2 separate regions of the Homo sapiens genome follow, and region 1 is linked to region 2. The links are contacts of gene promoters, found by promoter capture Hi-C in human tissues and cell types (Jung and others, 2019). All regions are on one chromosome and are shown on one strand. The core of a region is centred on a gene start or on the middle of the fragment in contact, and the rest is flanking DNA. Distances in the headings are between cores, read along the strand shown.

Evidence for each region. Contacts are between HindIII fragments. The study calls those that stand out against the background at their distance.
Region 1: a contact is called between a fragment that was not itself captured here and the fragment with the promoter of HEYL in region 2, in 1 of the 25 tissues and cell types used here (lymphoblastoid cells).

What each region holds. Positions count from the first base shown.
Region 1 is chr1:39,081,914-39,088,692 of GRCh38, forward strand. It overlaps a transcript of MACF1 not described here. Among named protein-coding and RNA genes, the nearest start is that of NDUFS5, 59 kb to the left of the region's middle. The HindIII fragment of the contact is 4,796 bases long and covers 1,847-6,642 here.
Region 2 is chr1:39,638,368-39,644,939 of GRCh38, forward strand. It overlaps HEYL (hes related family bHLH transcription factor with YRPW motif like), which reads right to left and starts at 1,276. Exons shown (of 5, transcript NM_014571.4): 1 at 1,179-1,276. The coding sequence starts at 1,258. RefSeq lists silencers at 1,053-1,122, 1,243-1,632. The HindIII fragment of the contact is 11,489 bases long and covers 1-6,572 here.

The DNA.
Region 1 (6,779 bases), core at 2,995-5,494, 550 kb before region 2:
CTCGGCCGCTGGCCCCAGCGCCCTGTCGGTCCTCGGTCGCGCGTCCCCGCTCTTTGTCAGCCACGCTTGGCGGGCGCGCGGACCCACCCGCGCCGCCCCAGGCTCGCGGGCGCGCCCCTCCTCCGCCGTGGGGAAACGGGTGGGGGCCAGGTGGGGAGGGTCGCAGGGGGTGAGAGCACCTGGTGAGGTGCCTGTCGCCGACCGGCCTGCGGCCTAGGGGGTGGGCTGGGGCTTGGGCGGGCACTCCTGTGAGTCTCGGGGATTGATGGAATGACCCAGGTGGCCGAGGGTCGGGCGGGAGCCCGGAGGTCAAACAAGTGTTTGTGAGGGGCCGGAGATTGACGGGGTAGAGCCCAGAAGGGACGCTTTCTCCGGGAGGAGGCCTTGGGAGAGCCGGCCTTTGTAGTGAAATGGGCGTCTTGGAGAGGAATGGGCGGTTCTGGGATGAAGCAGGTGGTCTGAGAGGAGGGGCATTTTTCCTGCCCCCGAGCTGAGGGTAGGGATGGAAGCTTGGCCTGAGTTTCCCAGAGGTTGAGGCTGTCACTTCAGCACCTGCCCTGGCACTAGAAGGTAATGGGAGGAGGGGTAAGTGCTAAGATAAAGGGCAAAGCTGTGCCAGGACCTGGGTCCTTTCCTTTCTGCTTCCTGTGGCTAGATCCCTTCTAGATGTTCTTTGGGAAGAGGGCTCACACGCTGCTGGCACAAGGGGTGCCCTGGCAGGGAGGCTCTGCTGCCCGAGGCTGCCTACAGGCCTCCTACACCATTTTTATGTTTCTTTTGTTATCTCTTTGAATTCTGTGCCTATGGTGGGGATCTGCCAATGACCCAGGAGGCTGTCTCTGCCCCTTGCTGCCTCTAGGCTCAGATTCGAGAATCCTGGAGGAGCTGTGGCCACAGACCCATTGTGTCCAGCCATGTAGGCTACCTCGCTGTCTCTACACAGCCCTGTGAGCCGGTATTCCCTATAAGGGAAAATCAACAGCTCTTGCCCTCCCTGGACCCTACAGCCAAAGTCAAAGCTGGGTACCCAGGTTGGCTTTGCGGCCTGTAGGAAGGCTGGTAGCTGAAGGCACATACCATTTGTGCTCTGATGGAGCCCTTGGGGTGGTGGGCCATGTGTAGCAGATGGTTCTGGGAAGTGAGCTTGACCTGGCTGAGGGAAGGCTGCCCAGTCTGGCTGGTGGAGCCCAGCTGGCCTTAGAGCAATTGTATTTTCACTCAACTCTCTCCACTAGCTAAACTGACCAGAAAAAATGGGCTTTCTGTCCCATCCCCCCACCCCATCCTCATGCTGTGCCACGTATTCCCACAACAGCCCTTGGAATAAGCAAATGAACATTTAATCTAATGCCTGCTGGGTGCCATGCATGGCATCAACCAGTACTACATTTGCATTTGACAATGTTCTTAAAACATCCTCTGAGGTGGAATATTACCCCCATTTTGCAGATGAAGAAACTGAGTCTCAGAGAGGTGAAGTGACTTGCCCAAGATCACAGCAATTGTAAGTGGCCAAACCAGAATATATACCCAGGTCTGTCTTACTTCAAGTCTGGTACATTTTCTAATATATCTGCTGGAGACAGAGTGGGAGAAACCAGAGAATTTCTGCCTATTCTAGCCCATGGTTTGCTTCTTGCCTGCTATTGAGATCATGCTTTAGCTTTTTGAAAATACTTCCCATCTGTTGCCCCACTTTATCCTTATAGCATTCCTGGGAGGTAAGTAGAACAGGAATATAATAATAGATACTGTGTATTGAGTGCTTACTGGGCAGTGGGCACTATTAAGCACTTTACATGCAGGATTAAGCACTTTACATGCAGAACCCAACCCTATAGGGCTAGGTTCTAACTGTCGTCATCCCCATTTTGTAGATGAGGGTGCTGAGGCTCAGAGAGATTAAATGGCTTCTCCAGGGTCACACAGCTAGTAAATGGAGTAGAATTTAAACCCACAGCATTCTGTCATGGGATCTGTGAGCTTAATCCTCCAAATGTGCCAAATAGCAATAATAATAGTTCCTAGGAATAGGAGCTAACTTTTACATGATGCTTTAAGATTTATAGACATCATCACATATAATATCCCCCAAACCTCATGAATTAGTTTTGGGATGTATTGTCTTCATCCCATTTTCCAGGTGAAGAAACTGAGGTACAGATAGGCAGGACTAGAACCTCTGCTTCCCAAGTCCCAGTGTTCCTTATGGGACCCCTTTTGTCTGCTCACATTCACCCCTTTCTCCTTCAGATCACTTCTCCCTGGGCTCCCAGGCCCTCCTGCAGCAGCCCCCGCCTGGGCCATGTCTTCCTCAGATGAAGAGACGCTCAGTGAGCGGTCATGTCGGAGTGAGCGGTCTTGTCGGAGTGAGCGATCTTACAGGAGCGAGCGGTCGGGGAGCCTGTCTCCCTGTCCCCCAGGGGACACCTTGCCCTGGAACCTGCCACTGCATGAGCAGAAAAAGCGGAAAAGCCAGGATTCGGTGCTGGACCCTGCAGAGCGTGCTGTGGTCAGAGTCGCTGGTAAGAGAGGTCCCCCAGCAGGCTGGACGCTGTGGGTGTGAGGGAGGAATGGGCCAGGGCACAGCAGCTGTGTGGGGAGCCGAGGGGTCCTCACCAGGGCCTCTGACAAAGCAGCCATCATCTGATTTGTTATTATTATTCTTGGAAAGACGTTGAAATAACATTAACGAAAAACTCAAAAGAGGAAAATCTGCCACCCCTTGCTCACGTGAGACCTGTTTTCATTTCTGCACCTTCTTCCCTGTCTTTGTCCCCATTCAGTTATATTTTCTATGCAGTTGCCTTCATGGCTTAGGTACCATTCTGCATCTGACTCTTTTCAGTTAATCTTATATTAAAAAGATTTTCCATATTGCACTTTAGACTTTATGGTTACCATTTCTAAAAGCTGTCTATTTCATGACTTTCTAAATCCTACTCTTTTTTCACTTTTTGGCTATATTAGACAATGCTGCTGAGAACATGGTTAAGAATGATTTGACTTCTGTTATTTCCTTATAATGAAATCCTTGGAGAGTACAGTTTTACTTGTATCGCCTTCCAAAAGTGTTCTACATGCTGACCTTTCACACGACGTGAAGGCTGGGGCTACCTCCTGTGGTGGGATGTGCCCAGCTCTTTGCCAAGCAGCAGCACAGTGCTGTAGTTATGAGTGTAAGCTTTGGAATCAGAGAGGGTAGGGTGCTGGATCGTGGCCCTGCCACTGACCAACTGTGTGACTCTGGGCAAGTCCCTTATTCTTTCTCAGTGTCACTTTCCTTGTCTTAAGAATGCCCACTGTGCAGGGATGCCTTGAAGGTTAGATGAAATAATGTGTGGAAAGCCCTTAGCACAGTTTTTGGCTCAATAAAGGAGATGCTTCCACTGAAGGCATCCACAGCTGCCTCCCTGAAGTGTGCTCAGCATCTCAGCAGGGTGTTGGTGTTACAGTACGGATAGGAAGATAGAGCAGTGCCTGCAGCTAATTCAGTGACATCACCCGCTTTCAAGCCGTCACCAAGGCCTGTACTGCTACCTTCTTTGTGTCCCTCAAATAATACAGCCACCCCCTCCACTGTGTCATCTCTCACCTGGACCTTCCAATGAGCATTTAATAGCTCTTCCTCTCTTAGTCTTGCCACCATCCTCCACGTGACTAATAGAGTATTTTTTTCTAAAATACAAACCTCAAGAACACATATTCTATTTTATGAAATGAAGTGCTGCCTGTACAACACTTCATTAAAAATACAATAAAAAATAAAATAAAATACAAACCTAATTCTATTACTCGGCTGCTTAAAAACCACCTTTGGCCCCTCATTGCCTGTGGAATCAAGGCTTCAGCATAAAGACCCATCAAAATTACTTACCTCTTCAGCTTCACCTGCCACCACCTCTACCCCCAATCACCCTGCCACAGTACACTGTAACTGGACCCCCAGAGGGATGCATCTTGCAGGATGAAACCACCACACTTTAATTTTCTTCTCTGCAAGATGCTGGTAAACCCTCCTCCTCTTTTAAGTGCCGCCTCCTCTGTCCTTAATGCCCCCAGTGGTATCCAAAGCTTCCTCCTCCGCTCTCACAGTCATACTTTTCTCTCCTCCATGTTCCCTTGTTCAATGTAGCAGTTAACCCACAGGGTGCCCATCACTCCCTTAGAAGAGTGAGCAATTTGGGATGTGTCTTATGTTTTGAGCCCCCGAGGGCTGCACGGGGCCTTGTACATGCTAGAGATCAATTGGTATTGAATGACTGAATGAATGCTGAATGAGTGTTTTGAGGATATTATGTGATGTGACAGACTGTGATCCAGAAACAGGCACTGAGCTATAACGGAAAGTTAGAGAAAGGCTTATGTGGGCTCAGGTAATCAGGAAAGGACTTTAGAGGGAATGAGCTCCAAGTGAGGAGACAACAGTGGGGCCTGGAAGGCAGGAGGGAGAGTTGGAGCTCTTTCTAGTGGGCAACGAGGAGTCCTTGGAGGAAGTCCTTCTCAAAACCTTTGGGCCTGCAGCATCAGCCAGTAACAGAATTTTAGAGCTGTCCCTAGGGTGCAGGAAGGGGTTTACTTGTCCCCAGTCTTGAAGGGCCATAACTCAGGGCCCTGATGACTCATAAACCTCTTTCTCCTGAAGAGAGAGTGGGCTGTCTCATTCTTCCTTCTTTATGCCCTCTGCCTCCATCCTTCATCACTCATGCATACTTAGATCGTTTTGTGATGATTTCCACTTCCAGTCTTCTCTGAGGAGGCCCACGGGATGATTTGCTTGCTGCTTCAGATTTGGAGTCTAGAATAGAAGTGGAGTGGACTCAAGGAGGCTTAATTTTACACAGGCAAGGCTCCTAAGGACCCTGCTGGGTCAACTGAGCAAAGGGATGGTGGGTGCTGCGCTGTGCTGTGTTTCTGGCATAGATGCTGATCTCCTTTGCATCCTGACACTGCTGAATGCCTCTTTTGAGGAGGGGGCTGGGCCAGTGAGGCTGAAAATGGGGAGACTGCCATGGTTAAAAATAACTTGTGCACTGCAGTTGGGCGTGTTTCTTTAGCAGGAGAGGAGAGAGGCAGCAGAGACGAGGCGGGACTGCGACTTTAGGGTCTTGCTGAAATCTTCATGTGATTTTAGAATGCTGTGGGGGCTCCACCAGAGTAATGGAAAAGGCAGCCTTAGCTCTGCAGGGACTCCTTCACAGGAGGTGCAGGGGGGCATGTCTGGGAGACCCTGGATGCTCTGAAGCTCTCTGAAGCAGAACTTTAATTGTGGGAGGAAATGAAGTCAGTCTTACGCTGGAAGCCAGCTGTGGCCTGTGCAATTTTCTCCTCCCCCTGGATCTTGCTTATGAAGCCAAGTGGGGGTGTCTGAATCACTCTCACCAAATAGAGATCTTCCCTTTCCCTGGCCCACTCCGTGTCCTGAGCTGGTCTTAGGGCCTCGCCCTTGCTTGAGAGGCCTGATGGGGCAAGCCTGGTGGTCACACATGTCAGAGTAGAGAGGGATGTCGGGGCTGAGAAACCTGCTGATTTCAGTCTACAAAGCCAAACAGGTTTTAGGGTGCTGAACCTTGTTCTTCTTCCCATCTTCCTGTTCTCATCCTTTCCCTACATTTGTTTCTCCTTCTTCTTTGCCAGCCATATTCTCAACTCCCTAAGCCCAGCCACATTCAAATGTAACAAGAGTCACTAATGAAAGTGTCTTGTTTCGGTTTATCAGCTTTATGGTTTACACAGAGATTTCAAAATAACTCTGTTAGGCAGGACATATGTTAGCATCCGAGGCTCAGAGGGTTTAGGGGACTTGCCTATAGTTACACAGGACTGGTAAACACAGATCTTCTAACTCCAAGTACATTGCTATTTCTTTTTTTTTTTGAGACAGAGTCTCACTTTGCCACCCAGGCTGGAGTGCAGTGGCGCAATCTCAACTCACTGCAACCTTCACCTCCCGGGTTCAAGCAATTCTTCTGCCTCAGCCTCCCGAGTAGCAGGGATTACAGGCGTGTGCCACCATGCCCAGCTAATTTTTGTATGTTTAGTAGAGATGGGGTTTCTTTTTTTTTTTGGAGATGGAGTCTCGCTGTCGCCCAGGCTGGAGTGCAGTGGTGCAATCTCTGCTGGATCTCAGCTCACTGCAGGCTCCGCCCCCTGGTTTCACGCCATTCTCCTGCCTCAGCCTCCTGAGCAGCTGGGACTACAGGCGCCTGCCACCTTGCCCGGCTAATTTTTTGTATTTTTAGTAGAGACGGGGTTTCACCATGTTAGCCAGGATGGTCTCCATCTCCTGACCTCGTGATCCGCCCGCCTCAGCCTCCCAAAGTCCTGGGATTATAGGTGTGAGCCACCGCGCCTGGCCCGAGATGGGGTTTCACCATGTTGGTCAGGCTGGTCTTGAACTCCTGACCTCAGGTGATCCGCTTGCCTTGGCCTTCCAAAATGCTGGGATTACAGGCGTGAGCCACCGCACCCGGCCCTGTACATTGTTATTTCTATTTCCTTAGGCAATACCTGGCAACCAGCCCAGTCTGAATCTTCTGTAGTTGACAATCTAAATCTCCACACTCACCTGAGAGACTTGGTCACTTCCGGGAAAGGCCTCAGGATCCTGGTCTATAGAACCAGGAAAGGGGAGAGACAAAGATCTTGGAAAATTTGCCTCTTCCCCTCTGGCTCTCTGTCTTTAGTGAAGAGCAGTAGAAATATCCTTACTTAATGGTGGGGAGCAACAAGGAAGTGGGGCGCTAGGGAGCTTACTGTAGCAAGGAGTACAACCCCAA
Region 2 (6,572 bases), core at 26-2,525:
GATCACTTAAGCCCAGGAGATCAAGGTTGCCATGAGCTATGATCATGCCACTGCACTCCAGCATGGGCAACAGAGTGAGACCATGTCAAAAAGAAAGAAAGAAAGAATTAACTGAATTCCCCTCCAATTCTGTTCTAGAGAGTCAAGTCTAGATGAGCCAAGAGAGATGAAGTATATCCCTTTCTTTTCCACTGCTGTCTTTGTTTTACTGATGGGGAAACTGATGACAGACTCTGTCAGGGAAACCAATGGCCCAAGACCACATAGTGAGTTGGTGGCAGATTTGGGGCTGGGACCCAGGTCTGCAGACTCCCAGTCAGCCCTGCAGCTCTTTCAGGGTGCTGGGAATCACATGGTGTGTACCTAGGCATGTGCTGTGCTAAGCCCTTGACATACTTTGCCTCATTTGGTTTTCCCAATATTTCCATGAAGTTGGTTCTATTATTCATGCTCATTTAACAGATAAGGAAACTGAAGCTTAGACAGTTTACAGAACTGCGAGGTAGCAGAACTATACAAGCGCAGTTTGTTCGACAGGTTTGAAGCAGGTCAGACTATCTACCAGGAGCTGAAAGACACTGGCAGTATGGGGGCACGATAGGAGGAACATTGGAATTAGAGTCTAGGCCCTTGCAAGTCGCTTATTATTTTCTTCAATACTAAGTCCCTAAATCCAAACTCCAATTTGCTCAAAGGAGGACAAATTTTCTTCTTCCTGAAATAATTTGTGGACTACATGAAAACTGCATCCAAACTAGGGTAAAATTGGGAAAGGATGGGGTTACTCTGCATCGTCAGCAGATTCCAGACAGGGGCCAGAGTACCATCAGTCTATGAGAGTTTTCTAAGATCTCCAGGGAAAACCTGCCAATGGCCTCCCCTAGGCCACTTCAACAGATAGATGATAACCCACTAGCCACCTGATCCCCCGAGCTGAACTCTCCCTCCCTGCCAGCATCCCCAGCCCTGCACGACCGAGAGCGCGCAGGATCCAGGCACTCGTGCGTGTAACGGCACGGCCCGCACACGCCCCCTACGCCGACACCTGTGGCCCCCGCGCTCACCTGCCTCTGCCCAGGCGGTGCTGGAGGGCTGGCCCGCCTGCTCGGCGAGCCCGTCGGGCCGACCCCCACCCCGCTCGCCCTCCGCCTGCTCGGTCCCCGCATCCCGGCCCTTACCTCAGCTGGCCCTCTTGGCCCACGTCGATGGGTCCGTCGGACTCCCCGTCGGAGCCGCTCGGCTCCTTGGGTCGCTTCATGGCGAACGCAGGCTGCCTGGTCTCAGCCCCGCGGCTAAGGCTCCCAGTCGGGAAGTCAGGCCCCGCCCCGGCCCCGCCCCGGCCCCGCCTCGGGGGCGCCGCCACCGCCCTTTCCCAGGGCCCTTTCCTGCGCCGCAGCTCCGGGCGCCCAGGCGCCCCCTCGCCCCCGCGGTGACGCGCCGCCGAGCCGTGGGAAGGCCCTAGGCGGTCGCCGCCTTCATCGACGGCTGGGAGGTCCGGCTCTGCTCCGCTGTCTCGGCTGCCGCGCGCTGGGTGGCCTTGGGCAGGTGCCCTGGGAGGCCCCGCGGGGAAGCCAGGAGTCCCCGTCTGTCCCTGGGTCGCCTGGGCGCTGCTGGCCTGTAGAGGCGCCGCTTCGATGCCCGGGATTCCGCAAGGGTCAACCCTGCGCGCTCCTGCCTCCTGGTGTTCTGGAGGCAGCAGACACATCAAGTTTGTCGAAGTTAGTCGTGGTGGTTGTGGCCTGATCCTCAGCAAGAATTCCCCAGCAGCAACTCCATAGGGGCCCAAAGCAAGTGGAATAGTGTGGTGGGGGCAAGGGGAAGACACTTACACTTCTGAGAGGTGGCAGTCACCCCCAAAAGGGACGGCTGAAGTTGTGGCCACCGCATCTGAGAAAGCTGGGCTCTGGCCGAGGTCCCTAAAGGCCTGGCGTGGTGGCAGTGGTGGGTTGTCCCTGGGAATCAGTTCCCAGTTCACCAGAGGTCGAGTTGTCCTGGGCGGCCAGGAGGCCAGGAAAGGGCTCCTTCTAGACGCTATGGCAGGGCCTCAAAGTGGGAGAAGGAGAGGAAAAGGGAAGATACCTTCCAGCCTCTCTTCCTGGGGCCTCTGCTTCTGGCAACCCATCAAACTGTTCACTCAGGGAGGGCTCTAGCTGCCCTGTCCTTAGGGGGACTTGTGGGAAGTTCTCAGATTCACCGGTCATCCTCAGGCGCCCAGTACCTCAGAGAAGCTCCTAAGGCTCCAAAGGAAGCTGCATGAGAGCATCCTGGAGCTGGACTTCTTGGGCAGGGAAGAGGAGATAGAGGAGGTCTTGGTGTGCTGGGTTAGATATGAGAGGTCTTTTCCTTTTTACCCGCCACCAGGTCAGGACCTGAGGGAAGCCACCCCTTCAAGTGGGAGAATCGGGTTGGTCATCTGAGAATAACTGTGCTTCCATCCCCACAGCAAGGCCTGCTTGCTGGGGGACACTTGATTACTTGATGGGAAAGAATGTTCCTGTGCCCCCGTCCACACACATCCACAGACACAACCATTTGGCCAGGTATGCAAACACATACACACGGACAGACTTACAAATATATACTGGTAGGCGCAACTGTCGTGAGCAATCAGTACCAGGAAGCCCTGGTGGTCGCCCCAGCCACAACTATGGACTCTCATTCCAAATGCCCTCAGCACTCACATCACTTCTGTGGGCACATGCCAGTCAGTGGAAACCTCAACTAACAGAGAAGTTGCACAATGTGTTATGCATTCCCTGGAAAGGCGGAAGTCAAGGAAGCCTCCCAGATAGCTGCCCTGTGTAATTGGCTGAGATAGCAAAGATTGGAAGAGGAGCAGATTTGCAGGGGAAGGTCAAGGGCCCCGTGATGGACGTTTCATGTGAGATGTCTTGGATCATCAAAATACAGTGCACAGTTAAATAGAGGGTATGGAGTTCAGAACAGAGGTCTCAGCTGGATATTAAATTTGGACGTCATTAGGTAATTGATGGCATTTAAAGCTATGGGAGCAGATGGGATCATTCAGAAAACGTGGATGGAGACAGAGCAGGGGCCTAGCTAAATACTTAACATTTGGTGAGCCCTTATTATAAAACCTGAAACTATTCTAAGTCTTTTGTAAATATTAACTCATTTAATCCTTGACAACCCTATAAAGTAGTAATATTATAATCCCCACTTTACAAGTGAGAAACAAAGGCTGAGAGGTAGACTAACTCCACCTAAGGCCAACAGGCAATAAATGGAAGGGCTGGAATTCAACAAGGCAGTTCAGTTCCAGAGCCAAAACATTAGGCTTTATTACTTTATACAGTACTCCCCCTTCTTTTAAAAATAAAGACAAGGATTCACTCTGTCACCAGGCTAGAGTGTAGTGGTGCCATCGTAGCTCACTGAAACCTTGAACTCCTTGGCTCAAGTGATCCTCCCACCTCAGCCTCCTGAATAGCTCAGACTACAGGGGCATACCACCATGCTCAGCTAATTAAAAAAACAACATTTTGCCAGGTGTGGTGGCTCACGCCTGTAATCTCAGCACTTTGGGAGGCTGAGGCAGGCGGATCACAAGGTCAGGAGATCGAGACCATCCTGCCTAACACGGTGAAACCCCATCTCTACTAAAAAATACAAAAAATTAGCCAGGCGTGGTGGCAGGCACCTGTAGTCCCACCTACTCGGGAGGCTGAGTCAGGAGAATGGCGTGAACCCGGGAGGCGGAGCTTGCAGTGAGCCAAGATGGCGCCACTGCACTCCAGCCTGGGCGACAGAGTAAGACTCCGTCTCAAAAAAAAAAAAAAAAAAAAAAAAATTTTTTTTGGTAGAGATGAGATCTCACTATGTTGCCCGGGCTGGTCTTCAACTCCTGGGGCCAAGCAATCTTCCCACCTTGGCCTCCCAAAGTGTTAAGATTACAGGAGTAAGCCACTACACCCCGTCAATTATACAGCTCTTAAACATTGTGATATATTATCCAGTACTGAGCCTAGAGCTATGCCATCAATATAATAGCCACGAACCCCCTATGGCTATTAAGTACTTGAAATGTGGCTGGTCTGAATTGCTGTATGTGCAGTGAGTATGAAATACACACCAGAATTTTTTTAAGTGTGAACTATCTCATTGATATTTTTTGTTATGATTACATGTTGCAATGATAATATTGTATAAATATTGGATGAAATAAAATACATTAGTAAAGTTAACTTCCCTTGTTTTATTTTTAGGTTTTTAAAAATGTGACTACTAGAAAATGTTAAACTGCATATTTGGCTCCCATGATATTCCTATTGGATGGTGCTAATCTGGTGCAGGGTTTCTTAACCTCAGGACTACTGGCATTTTGGGTCAGGTCATTCTTTATTGTGTAGGGCTGTTCTGTGGATTGTAGAATGGTAAGCAGCCTCCCTGGCCTCTATCCACTGGATGCCAGTTATACCCGCTCCAGTTGTGACCATCAGAAATATCTCCAGATAAAATACCAAATGTCCCTTGGGGGAGAAATCGCCCCCAGTTGGGAACCGCTAGTCTGGAGAAACTCCAAGATTTAAAGGTTGTAGAAGAGAAAGAGCTGCCAGAGAAGACTGAAAGGGCAGTGGAGGAGAGTGGGGTGTGTGTGGGGGGGTGTGGGCAGGAGCCAAAAGAGTGTTTCAAGGACTTGGTCATGATCCTTTTAAAATGCCAGTCAGATCATGTCACTTCCTGCTCAAAACCATCCACACGCTTCACATCCCATTTGAAATAAAATGCCAACTGCTTACCATGCCCTATACACAGAACAACTGTAATAACCTGGGCACCTTTGAGAGTGAAAGGAGGCAATACTAATAATCATGCCAGGGCAGTTCAGGGCACACTGGAGGTACCATCTCCTAAGCTCAGGCCCCTGCCCATCTCTCCAGCTTCATCCCCAACCACTTTCTGCCTTGTCCACTCACCCACGACAGCCTTCTTGCCATTTGTATTGGGCCATTCTCACATTGCAGGGGCCAGAGCTTAGGATGACAAACATATAGCAACACATATAATGTAATGTCAGTGATATTAATAGATGCTGTGAAATAAGATAAAGTGAGGTGGAGACATAGGGTGACTGGGGGATTGGTGGCTATTTTACTTAGGGGTCAGGAGATCGTCTCTGAGGATGAATCACTTATGCAGAGACCCGAATGGAGAGAGGGAATCTAAGAAGATCTGGGGAAGAGGATTCCAGGCAGAAGGAACAGCAAGTGGAAAGCCCTGAGGTAGGAACAAGCATGGAATATCAATAGAATGGTGATATGGTTTGGATCTGTGTCCCCATCCAAATCTCATGTTGAATTGTAATCCCCAATGTTGGTGGTGGAGCCTGGTGGGAGGTGAGGGAGGTGGATTTTTCATGAATGGTTTAGTCCCATCCCCTTGGTACTGTTCTCATGATAGTGAGTTTTCATGGATCTGGTGGTTTAAAGGTGTGTGGCACCTCCCCTGCTTCCTCTCTTGTTCCTGTTTTTGCCATGTGACGTGCCTGTTCCCCTTTTGCCTTCCACCATGACTGGAAGCTCCCTGAGGCCTCCCCAGAAGCAGATGCTACTGTGCTTCCTGTACAGCCTGCAGAACCGTGAGCCAATTAAACCTCTTTTCTTCATAAGTTACCCTGAAATACAGGGAGGTTAAATAACTTACCCAAGATCACACAGCTACTAAGTGGTAGAAATAGGATTTTAACCAAGCAGTCTGGCGCCAGAATTCATGCTGGTAACCACTGCAACCTGCATTAGAGCTGGGTGGACCAATCAGGAGACTCTTAAAATAGGCCAGGCAATAAGGACTGGATTCGAGTGATACTGGGTTCCTGTCTGGGTGACTGAATGGATGAAGGTGACAAGCACCAAGGGGAAACACTGGAGAAGGGAAGGAGCTCACTATGGCCATGCTGTTTGTGAGACCTAGCGCACACCCAGGAGGAGAACCCAGGGAGAGGTCTGGGCTGGAGGAGAGATTTGGTGGCTGAAGACATGGGATACATGACATATCTGTCCCAAGGAGCTAGTGCAGATCCAGAAGGGAGGAGAACCTAGGCTAGGACCCTGGGAAACAATAGCCAAAGATTCTCTGGGAAGAAGGAGGAGAATCCTGCGAGAATGGAGCACCAGGGACCAAGGCAACCAGGAGCCGAGAAAAGGGGCTTGGTCACCAGTCCAGGGGCTCTAAGAGGAAAGAAGTGTGATCAGGAGGTCACAGATGCCTTGGGATGAATGAACAGAGGCAAGGGAGGCAGAGACAAGGGCAGGATGTCATGGACTGGGAAGTGTCTGGGGTAGAGGGTTGCGGAAGCAGGTTTAAAAAGGGGGCACGTCAGCCAGGCACAGTGGCTCATGCCTGTAATAGCAGCTACTCAGGAGGTTGAGGTGGGAGGATCACCTGAGCCCAGGAGGTCATGGCTACAGTGAGCCTTGATTGCACCAATGCACTCCAACCTGGGCAACAGAGTGAGACCCCATCTCTAGAAAAAAAAAAACAAAAAAGAGGGGCAGGTCAATGAGAGAGGGCACGCCATGCAACTCCAGGGACCAGCAGAGCCTCAGGAAGAA